Regions from separate parts of the Homo sapiens genome. Here region 1 is linked to region 2. The links are contacts of gene promoters, found by promoter capture Hi-C in blood cells and fetal thymus (Javierre and others, 2016). All regions are on one chromosome and are shown on one strand. The core of a region is centred on a gene start or on the middle of the fragment in contact, and the rest is flanking DNA. Distances in the headings are between cores, read along the strand shown.

Evidence for each region. Contacts are between HindIII fragments. The CHiCAGO score rates a contact against its expected background, and 5 or more counts as called.
Region 1: a contact is called between a fragment that was not itself captured here and the fragment with the promoter of PLXDC2 in region 2, in 2 of 17 cell types (total B cells and naive B cells). The highest score is 10.3, in total B cells.

The regions. Positions count from the first base shown.
Region 1 is chr10:22,984,441-22,989,335 of GRCh38, forward strand. All of the region lies in intron 10 of ARMC3 (armadillo repeat containing 3), which reads left to right. Among named protein-coding and RNA genes, the nearest start is that of ARMC3, 59 kb to the left of the region's middle. The HindIII fragment of the contact is 2,565 bases long and covers 1,078-3,642 here.
Region 2 is chr10:19,813,992-19,819,368 of GRCh38, forward strand. It overlaps PLXDC2 (plexin domain containing 2), which reads left to right and starts at 2,441. Exons shown (of 14, transcript NM_032812.9): 1 at 2,441-3,200. The coding sequence starts at 3,089. It overlaps LOC124902388 (a long non-coding RNA gene), which reads right to left and starts at 2,237. Exons shown (of 2, transcript XR_007062078.1): 1 at 411-2,237. RefSeq lists an enhancer at 1,365-2,130. The HindIII fragment of the contact is 8,470 bases long and covers 1-3,490 here.

The sequences.
Region 1 (4,895 bases), core at 1,110-3,609, 3.2 Mb after region 2:
TTGTAAAACTAACAAATGCTTTTTTTAATTAAAATCTTTTTGTAATCTAAAAATAGAATTTTATAATCTTTATGTAAATTAATTTATAGTCTAATGTATCTGATTTCAGATTTTCACACATCTTGCTTTCTCATAACAAAAAAACACACTCAAATATAATAAAATAGTATGATGATGAGCAATTTTAGTAGCAATCATAAATAAATAATCAGACCATTCATAGCCCTATGTAGAAGATTTTCAACTTTATTGAAGTAATCTGATCATCACCTTAATTGATGCCAAAAGATCTTACCCATTTGGTATTCATGAATGAGGTTTCTTAGATACTCAAGTTTAGTGGATTTTTAAAAATTTACTTTTTTAATCCAAAAAAACTTTTAAAAATTTGCGATAAATTTGAATTAAAATCTTCTAAAATCTTTCCTTCTCAACCTTCTGTTTTTTTTTTAGACAGGGTGTCACTTTATTGCCCAGGCTGAAGTGCAATGGTACAATCGTAGCTCACTGCAGCCTAAACCTCCTGAGCTCAAGCGATCCTCCTGCCTCAGCCTTTCAGGTAGCTGAGATTACAGGCATGCACCATCCCACCCAGTTAATTTTTCATTTTTTTTTTTTTTTTTTTTTTTTTTTTAGAGATGGGGTCTTACCATGTTGCCCAGGCTGGTCTCTCAAACTCCTGAGCTCAAGCAATCCTCCTACCTTGGCCTCCCAAAGTGCTGGGATTACAGGTTTGAGCCTCTGCAGTGAGCTCCCTCTCAGCCTTTTGAACTGATTATGCTGTTATTAAACTTTGGTGGGGAAAGTTATGGTTGCCATTTTGACTAAATGACTGCCATGTGACCCTCGGAGGTGTTCTCAGTGCCCCTTGGGGAAGGGGGGCTACTTGTCCCACTCACTGGGTATAAATTCAGGGGGGCAGCTCCTTTGACCTTCGATGCATTTTGTTGATTCCTTATCAAGCTTCTGAGAGCTGTCAGTTTTTCATTTTCACTGCTATCAGTGGATCTGATTGGCAGAGCTCTAACTTCCTCCCTGTCAGAGTTCCTTTCAAATCCTTCCTTTCTGTCCATGAAAAGCTTGGATTCCAGGTAACCCAGCTTTATCAAATTGTACACAAAAGCCATACAGGAGGGCCTGATGCCTCTTTGGTATGTACATAATTTTTGCTTCTCAGAGGCCATTCCCTACCCCCACAGATAATTCTCGTGTATGTTGTGGTTATGTGAAATTTCCAGGTATTTGAGTTATGGATACGTGGATATGGATGGTAGTTAAAAATTATTAACAAACATGAATCCTTTTACTTACAAATGGGCTAATGTTGTAGAGTAAAATAGACATAAAATATATCCTGGAAGTAAATTCCGCTTCCGGGAGTATTTTGCCTTAGGTCATTGTAGTGACACCCTCTTGCCTGGAAAACCTCTTCCCATGCAGGCTGTGGTTCTCTCCCTCACCCCGTTTACATCTCTGTTACAATGTCACCTTGGCGAAGCTACTTAGCATTACCACACGGCTTAAGATTGCACTCCACACATGCATATTTTCAACGCTCCTTCCCTGCTGCCCTTTTCACATACCCTTATCATTTTCTAACATAGCATGTAACTCACCTGGTACACTTATCATCATTTATTTTCTGCACCCCCACACCCCTGCACTGCACGCCCCCCCCCCGCGCCACACACCAACCACTAGCATCCATGAAGGGAGCAGCCTTCATCTATTTAATTCACTGATGCATCCCAAGCATCTAGAACACTGTCCATCCCATAGTAGGCATTCGAAGGAAAATAGGCTTACATCAAAAATACAACCAAAAAATGGCCGGGCAAAGGTGGTTCACATCTGTAATCCCAGCACTTTGGGAGGCCAAGGCGGGTGGATTACTTGAGGTCAGGGGTTCGAGACCAGCATGGCCAACATGGCAAAACCCCATCTCTACTAAAAATACAAAAATTAGCCAGGAATGGTGGTGCATATCTGTAATCCCAGCTACATGGGAGGCTGAGGCATGAGAATTGCTTGAACCCTGTAGGCAGAGGTTGCAGTGAGCCAAGATCGCGCCACTTCACTCCAGCTTGGGCAACAGAGTGAGACTCCATCTCAAAAAAAAAAACAAAAAAAAAAAAAACAAACCCAAAACAAAACAAAACAAAACAAAAAACCCAAAAGTAAAAGAAAAGTGATGAAAACAAAGTCTATTTGACAAACAAAGTCTGTTGTCAAACAATCAATAATGGCCATTACTTAAAACAGAAAGCAATCATCAGTGTTGTTTTCTTTGTTTTTATATAACTTGGAAAACAGAAGCAACAGTGGAGGCTTCCCTATAAGAGCCTCCTATTGATACTTCTAATTATTATCTACAGAATAAAGATAACTTAAAGTGGGTACAAATATGAAAAGGCAATGAATAAGAATAAAAATAACTATTTTTATAAAGGCATAGTAAAAGGGGACAAGAACAGCCAGATTCACTTATTAGCAGTGAAAGAAGGAGAAAGCAAAGTAAAACTATTTTTAAGTGAATAAATAAAAGGTGTGAAGGCTAAAACAATGCCTGTAGAAAGGAACAAATAAAAATGGAAACCAAGAAGCAATAATGAATTTTATAGAAAAATGTAGTTGTTTGGACACATATCTTTTCTTGGTATACTGCTAATCTCTTTTACAGTTAACAATTTGTAATGCCTTTTGAAAACGAGAAAACCGTTTATTTTTGACATAGGAAATATTGTTTTCAGCTAAATTTCATGTTACATTTATCCTGTATGCTTCTATCCAATTAATCATATCAAAGTTCCATATTATTTATGCAAGTACTGAGAGACTTATTCTCTGAGGAGCAGACCCTACACATTAAAAGAATGTTTTAAACTATTACTTTATAACATCACTGCCATCTGTTGGATCTGATCAGAATTAGAGTTTAAGTTGTTCCAAGAAGAAAAAGGGTTCAGTGTTTTTCACTTCCCTTTGGCAATGCTAACTAAATTTGGCCACTGGTAAACTATGAAAAGATTAGAATAAATGTTCAGAACTAATAAAGATTAGTATAAATGTTGGCTAGACAGTTTTCAAAAGATGCAATTATCTTAGGAAATAAAATGCAATGAACAAAATAAAAATATACACAGTAATAACTACAATTATTTTAATAACTATAGAGAAGTGAGAACTGAAGTTTTGTTACAGTAAATGCATGATCATAAGTCCCTTGTTTACACATAGATCACACTAACTCTGATTCTTCATAATTATTCCATGTCATCCCCATGAAGAACTGAGTGATTTACCTAAATCTTAGAGACCCTTTTATTACCATTTCTTTGCTTTTTATTTTTTATTTTTTGTACCCCTTTTGACTTTCCATGACAGCAGTGACCCAAGAAAGTTCTAAATGTTAGCACATATAGTGGTGACTGAAAAATTAATTGATTGATTACTGGCCCATTGCCAGCTTCTACAATACCAGAGACAAAAAGCTCTTCCCCAGAAACTGTCTTGCTGTTGTGTTCCCTATGGTCAGGACCGCACAAGGGAATGATGAAATTGTAAGCAGTACACTCCAAAGGGACTCCACAAACAGATAGAATGCCCCCAAATTATATGGATGTGCATTTGAGTGCTTTGGGAAGCTTAGAATGTCCTCGTTATATATGGATAACTTGTCATTTTGTATTATCAGTATTAAACATTCTTTTCGCTAATATAGAAATAAAGCATTGACTAATTTTAATACTTATTAGAATTATTCATGGAGTATCATGCCTGAGAATGCCATGCAATTTGTAGAGAAAACTTTAGAACGTATGCCACATACAGAACTTCACACAGTGTTTCAAGAAAAGTCAATACTTCATCTAGTGCTTCAACAAAAATCAGTGCTGCATTTACTCACAGTGACCAAAGTCCTTTATCAATCATTTCAGTATTGTCAGGGAGGGGCATGATCTTAATGATTTCCTGGAATGTTAAGTTTCTCCAGCAGAAATAGAAAGCACTTTTCAAACCTTTTGAAAAATTTCTCTCCCATTCAGTAAAGTTGGTGGGAAGATAATGTATTGTGTATTTATTGTTACCATTTCTTTTATTCTATTGATTTTAGGCTAATGGTTTCTCCTTAGAATTGCCTATATTTCATAGTGGAATGAAGGCTGAGTGCAGTGAATGATGATGGTCATTTTGAAGGGGGGAAAAATCTCTTAAAGTTAGCAAAATACAAACCACAAGTTCCACTTTTCCTTCTCCATCCCTGTACAGGAAGAGATGAAATGGCTAGACATGTGTCCCATCACCCTTTGAAAAATAAATGTTAACACCCTATTCTTAGAACACACTTCTTGGCCAGTTACACAGACCCACTTACATAAGTAATCCTGTCATTGAGAATACTTTTTACTAAAGAAGCATTGACCATAGAGATAATCCACAGTGATTTACAAAATTAAAACGTAGTCCCATGAAAAATGCAAGTTCGTGTTGTAGACTTGATGTATAGGTTGCATTTAATATTGCTAAGGTTGTACAGCTATTGTCTTTGTTGCATAGGGTTTTTCATTTTCGGAGAGTTCCATTTTCTAACAATGCAAGGAACTGCGTCTTCATACTGACCCCTAGTGGCCGATTAGGAGGACGTTGGGGGAGGGGCAAAAAAGGTAATGGAAGGATGGTTCTGTAGTTTAATGAAACGTACGTTAATTTAATTTGGAACACTCTCCAGTGTATCTAAGATAATATTTCCAAAACATTTTTAAAAGATTCCGATCTGAAAATCATTTCAACATGCTGCTTTTAGAGATAATATTCTACTGCTAAACGTGTGTTTAACAGATGCTTGTGTTTGACTTTGTCCCCTATTAAGGTGTAGTCATTTACAAATGTTTTGA
Region 2 (5,377 bases), core at 1,191-3,690:
TAACTCGGTCTGAAAAAAGAGGTGCTTTCTTGAAATGGTTTCCGCTGGATTCCCCATTATTTTAGATATGATGGGAGCTGGAGTTGTGCAGAATATTTTGGGACGCTTTCCGCATGGATTTATGATCCTCAAAAAGAATCGGCATCAATTAAACTATAGTTGACCCTTGAACAGTATGGGGGTCAGGGGGACGGACCCCCACACAGTAGAAAATTAATGTATAATTTCGACTCCTCATAAACTTAACTGCTAATACCCTACTGTTGATTAGAAGCATTACTGATAATATAAAAACAGTTGATTAACACATATTTGGTATGTTCTACATATTACATACTGTATTCTTAAAATAAAGTAAGCTAGAGAAAAGAAAATGTTAAGAAAATCATAAGGAAGATAAATATACTTACTGTTTATTAAGTGGAAGTGGATCATCAGAAAGGCTTTCATCCTCATCGTCTTCACATTGAGTGGGCTGAAGCGGAGGAAGAGGAGGGGTTAGTCTTGCTCTGTTAGGGGTGGCAGAGGAGGAAGAAAATCCATGCAAAAGCGGATCCTCGCAGTTCAAACCCCTGTTGTTCAAGGGTCAACCGCACAATCAGGTTTTGATGAGAAGACTCAGTTTTCAAACTTGATTTTAAGCAGGTATATATCCGGGTACTCAAATTCGGATGTAATATTACATAGAACTTAAACACTCCTAGTTAAGCAGAAATAGAAAAACCCAGTTACCTAAGTAGAAATCAACCTATGGGAGGAAAGCTCAGGAAAGAGCCAGGGTCCTGGCATAATAAAGAGTATAGGCATGATATATGTTTGTGTTTATACGTGTATATCTGTTGTTTGGAAATAAAGAGCAAATTGAGTATTGGATTAAGGGAAACCTTTCTTGTTTCCCATGAGAGAGCCGTCCTTTGAGCATCACATTTGCAAAGGTAGATTGATTATCCGGATCCACTTCCAGTGGGTTTTGTGGCAAGCCGAGACATCTATTGACAGCATCCATAGACTCTTCAGAGCTTGGAGTGGAAAGGACCTTGAACTTAGAACACATGCACATTTATTATGTGATTGAAGTCGTCTTCTCTCACTTTTGCTTCAGTAAACACTTAAACAAAGCCATGTACTTTGCGGTAGGCAATGTTCTATATTTATTAAATATACAGTTAACTCATCCAATCCATTGCAACCACCTTATAAGGGCGTTACTCTAATTCTCTCCATTTGATGGATGGATAACTGAGGCTAGGAGATAAACTGCTCATTGCGGGGGAGGTGAAATTCCAGCCCAGGCTGTCCGGGCTCTAGATCCTGTACTTTTAACCAATAGCGCTTTGCTTCTTTTCCTTGTATTTATCCCTTTCAAAAATGATTAACTGTATGCAAAATAAGATATCAACTAACGAGAGGGCCGGCAAGGGTTAACGCGGAAACAGATCCCCGAGCTGAAAAAACAAAAACAAACTGGGGAGCCAGAGCCCCTGAAAGCTCCGGTAGGAAATTCAATGGGCCTCCTGTTCCTTTAAACTCTCGCTTTCGCCCCCGCTGACACTTTGCAAAGCCGCGGCGGCAGCGGCGGGGACCACGCTGCGGTGCACCACCTTCCGCCACCCTCCCGCGCTGGGCTGGGGTCGAGGGGGCTTCGCAGAGTCGGTAACCGAACCGGCTCTGGTTTGCTTTCTCCACTCCCTAGCCACTACCAGAACCAGCCTCCGCGAAGGGGCGAGCTGTGGTTAACCCTTTCGTGCCCAGGGAGACCCCGCCAGGGTCGGGGCGGGGCGCGATCGCCCCCCGCAGTCGGGCGCGAAGGCGGCCCGGGAGCCAGGTGGGTGTGGGGCGCAGTTGGCGGAGCTGCCCAGGGCGTGCGAGCAGGCTGCGAGGATGGCGCCCCGGCGGCGCGGAGGTACCGCCCCGCGCTCCCCCGATAGCTCCCCGGCCTGTCCCCTCTCCCCGCGCTCTGGGGCAGCCGGCTGCCTGGGGCGCACGGGGCTGGAGTGGCCCTCTCCCTCCCCTTCGCTAGGCTCCCCCGGCTTAATCTGTTGGCCGCGACTCCTCAGCCAGCCCCGAGGAAAGTGCAGCCATTGGACAGGTCTGTGCGGGCTGCCGGTTTCAGGGAGGAAGGTGGGAGAAGCCTGGAGGAGCGAAGGGGAGGGCGGAGGGAGGAGGGAGGAGGGTGCGGCGGCAGATCTGGCAAATTGCGAGCTGCCTTCCCTCCTCAAAGTGTGGAGAAGGAGCGCGGGGGAGCGTGGCGACGGCAGCGCCTCCTCCGCCACCAAACTCCTGGGGCTCCGCGGGGGCTTGGGGCCACCTCCTCCTGAGCCCGGAGGAACCCTCTCCCGATAGGTTCCAGCGTGACTCCCTCCCACTCCACCCTTTTCCTTTCTTCTTCCTCTTTTTTTTTTTTTTTTTTAAACACATTTTTTTCCTGGCTTCGGACCTCAGACTGCTGCAGCCCTAACCTTCCCAGGGCTCAGCTCTTTGGAGCTGCCCATTCCTCCGGCTGCGAGAAAGGACGCGCGCCCTGCGTCGGGCGAAGAAAAGAAGCAAAACTTGTCGGGAGGGTTTCGTCATCAACCTCCTTCCCGCAAACCTAAACCTCCTGCCGGGGCCATCCCTAGACAGAGGAAAGTTCCTGCAGAGCCGACCAGCCCTAGTGGATCTGGGGCAGGCAGCGGCGCTGGCTGTGGAATTAGATCTGTTTTGAACCCAGTGGAGCGCATCGCTGGGGCTCGGAAGTCACCGTCCGCGGGCACCGGGTTGGCGCTGCCCGAGTGGAACCGACAGTTTGCGAGCCTCGGCTGCAAGTGGCCTCTCCTCCCCGCGGTTGTTGTTCAGTGTCGGGTGAGGGCTGCGAGTGTGGCAAGTTGCAAAGAGAGCCTCAGAGGTCCGAAGAGCGCTGCGCTCCTACTCGCGTTCGCTTCTTCCTCTTCTCGGTTCCCTACTGTGAAATCGCAGCGACATTTACAAAGGCCTCCGGGTCCTACCGAGACCGATCCGCAGCGTTTGGCCCGGTCGTGCCTATTGCATCGGGAGCCCCCGAGCACCGGCGAAGGACTGGCGGGTGGGGTAGGGAGGTGGCGGCGGCGGCATGGCGAGGTTCCCGAAGGCCGACCTGGCCGCTGCAGGAGTTATGTTACTTTGCCACTTCTTCACGGACCAGTTTCAGTTCGCCGATGGGAAACCCGGAGACCAAATCCTTGGTAAGTAAGATGCACTTTAGCTTGCTGATTTTGTGCGCAGCTGAAGACCTCTCTGGCACTCTCGTGCTCCCTACCCTCTCCCCCCAACATCACCTATCTGCCCTTGGGAAACTTATTGCAGTTGCTTTTCGGCTAAACTTAGGCTTCCCAAATGGGGAAAGAGGGTTATCAAGAGAAGGACGCCGGGGACTAGGGGTTTTCTTGAGGCTTTCGGGCTTACTTCACCTGGGCGGCAGGGGGTGGTACTGTCTCCCCAAAGTAGCCCAGGGAGGGCTTCAGTGTGAGAGCAAAGCTTCTTCCGTGGATACATCTCCTAGGACCTGGCATCTCCAGGCTGTGTGCTCTCCGGCTCCTCCTCCTTCCTCGCTGCTGGTTAAACTAAGCGTGTGTGGTATGGGGTGGGTGGGGGACGTTGTGAAAGCCAGGGATTGCAGGTCTCCCCTCTGCACGAGAAAATTCCCTGTGGCAGCACCTTCCTTCCCCTGGCGATCCCCACTAGCTCCGTCTAGTGACCTGGGCCAAGCGGGCGCTGGAAGGGGGGCGGGGTAAATGCGGCCGGCGCAGAGGTGGGGAGCAGGTGGGAAAGGTGGAGGCGGGCTCGCCTCTGGAGACCTACCCCTGCTCCCATTGTCCTCCGCCTGCCAGCTTCACAGACAGGCCTGAACGCGCAGAGAGTTCCTTGGAGTGCCCTGATTTTGTCCCCGAGAGGGCCCCCAACCTCCGCATCCTCTTAGTGGCTGTCCTGGCAGGTGCGCGTCCTGCGGGGAGTTGCGCCCCGGGGGCTATCGCCGAGCGGGAGCTGCCTCCTGGAACCCTGCCCACCGCGAACTGGGTGCCTACTCCCCATTTCTGCCTTTCAGTGAAGAAAGTGAAGACACAGGCAGAAAGAGATCTTGGCAGAAATTGGTGAACTAGGGTGGACTTCGAGAGGAGGTGAAACGAGAGAAAAAGAAAAAAGAAAAAACTTGGAGGGAAAAGAAAAGAAAACGAAAACTTTCTCCCTAGGATAATCAATTTGTCAATTTGTTCTTTTCTGGTGTGTGTGTGTGTGTGTGTGTGTGTGTGTGTGTGTGTGTGTGTGTAATTTAAATGATTGCCCGGAAAGTATGCATGCGTCCTCAACAGTCAACTAGAGAGTCACAGATGGAAGGTTGGGGGACACCTGGGGATTCCAGGCAAGGTGAATCTTGAAGATCTTGAAGGAAACCCTTGAGTGAAATTTACCAAGCCGCGACTTAGAAGACAGTCACAACACTTCGCCTGTCCCTGGTGTAAACTGTTCTAGATAAAGCACAGATACTGACTCTGCGCTCTTATTTATGGTTGAAGGGGTGTGTGTGTTGGGGTGTATGTGCAGGGAGGCAATAGGATGACAACACTTTTAAAGCTGAGAACAAAATGCAGATTTCTTGGGTGTTGACTTGTCTTTGTCACATTTAATTGTTCTGCATTAATGGACATAGGTTGTTCTTGACTGTGTATGATTTATGACAGTAGACTATGCCTTTTGTTTATTTCTCTGATACGTTTCATTGGTCCGAAAAAATAACACTTTTAGCCTTCCAGGAAAGGACACAGTTATTTAAAAATTGCAACAGTAATTTTCATGTACTTATTCACGGTATGAATAGATGCTTAATAAAAACAATTAACTCCACCACAAACGAGGTTAAAAGGATGTGTGTGCCAATGTGCATCCCAAGTTGTTTATTTAAAAACTTCTTTGGCACTAGGAATAAATAATGCATTTGCAGTAAAGGAAAAAAAAATAAATGCCAGCAAATGTTTATCTTTTTATAAACCTGTTCCAGTAACGTTACTGAAAAAAGAATATATGTATACACACACACACACACACACACACACACACACAATACACACACATTTGCTATGCCAAGAAGTTCAGAAATTGAGGATGAAATTCATCCCAAAGTAAGATTGGCCATATAATTAAAAGCCCTTGCTGTGGGAAATATAAAATACTTAAAATGTTCAACATCAGTGTACTGGTATTTTAAGCTAGTTGAATATTTCTGATGGGAAATATACTCTAGAAACCCATATATTGATAGGATTGATTTTTAAAAGAATGGTTTTAAATTCCTTGCCAAATTTTCGAAGACTTTTATAAACAGAAGTAGCTTCTTTCCTGGACATCATTTACATGTAGTTTTATG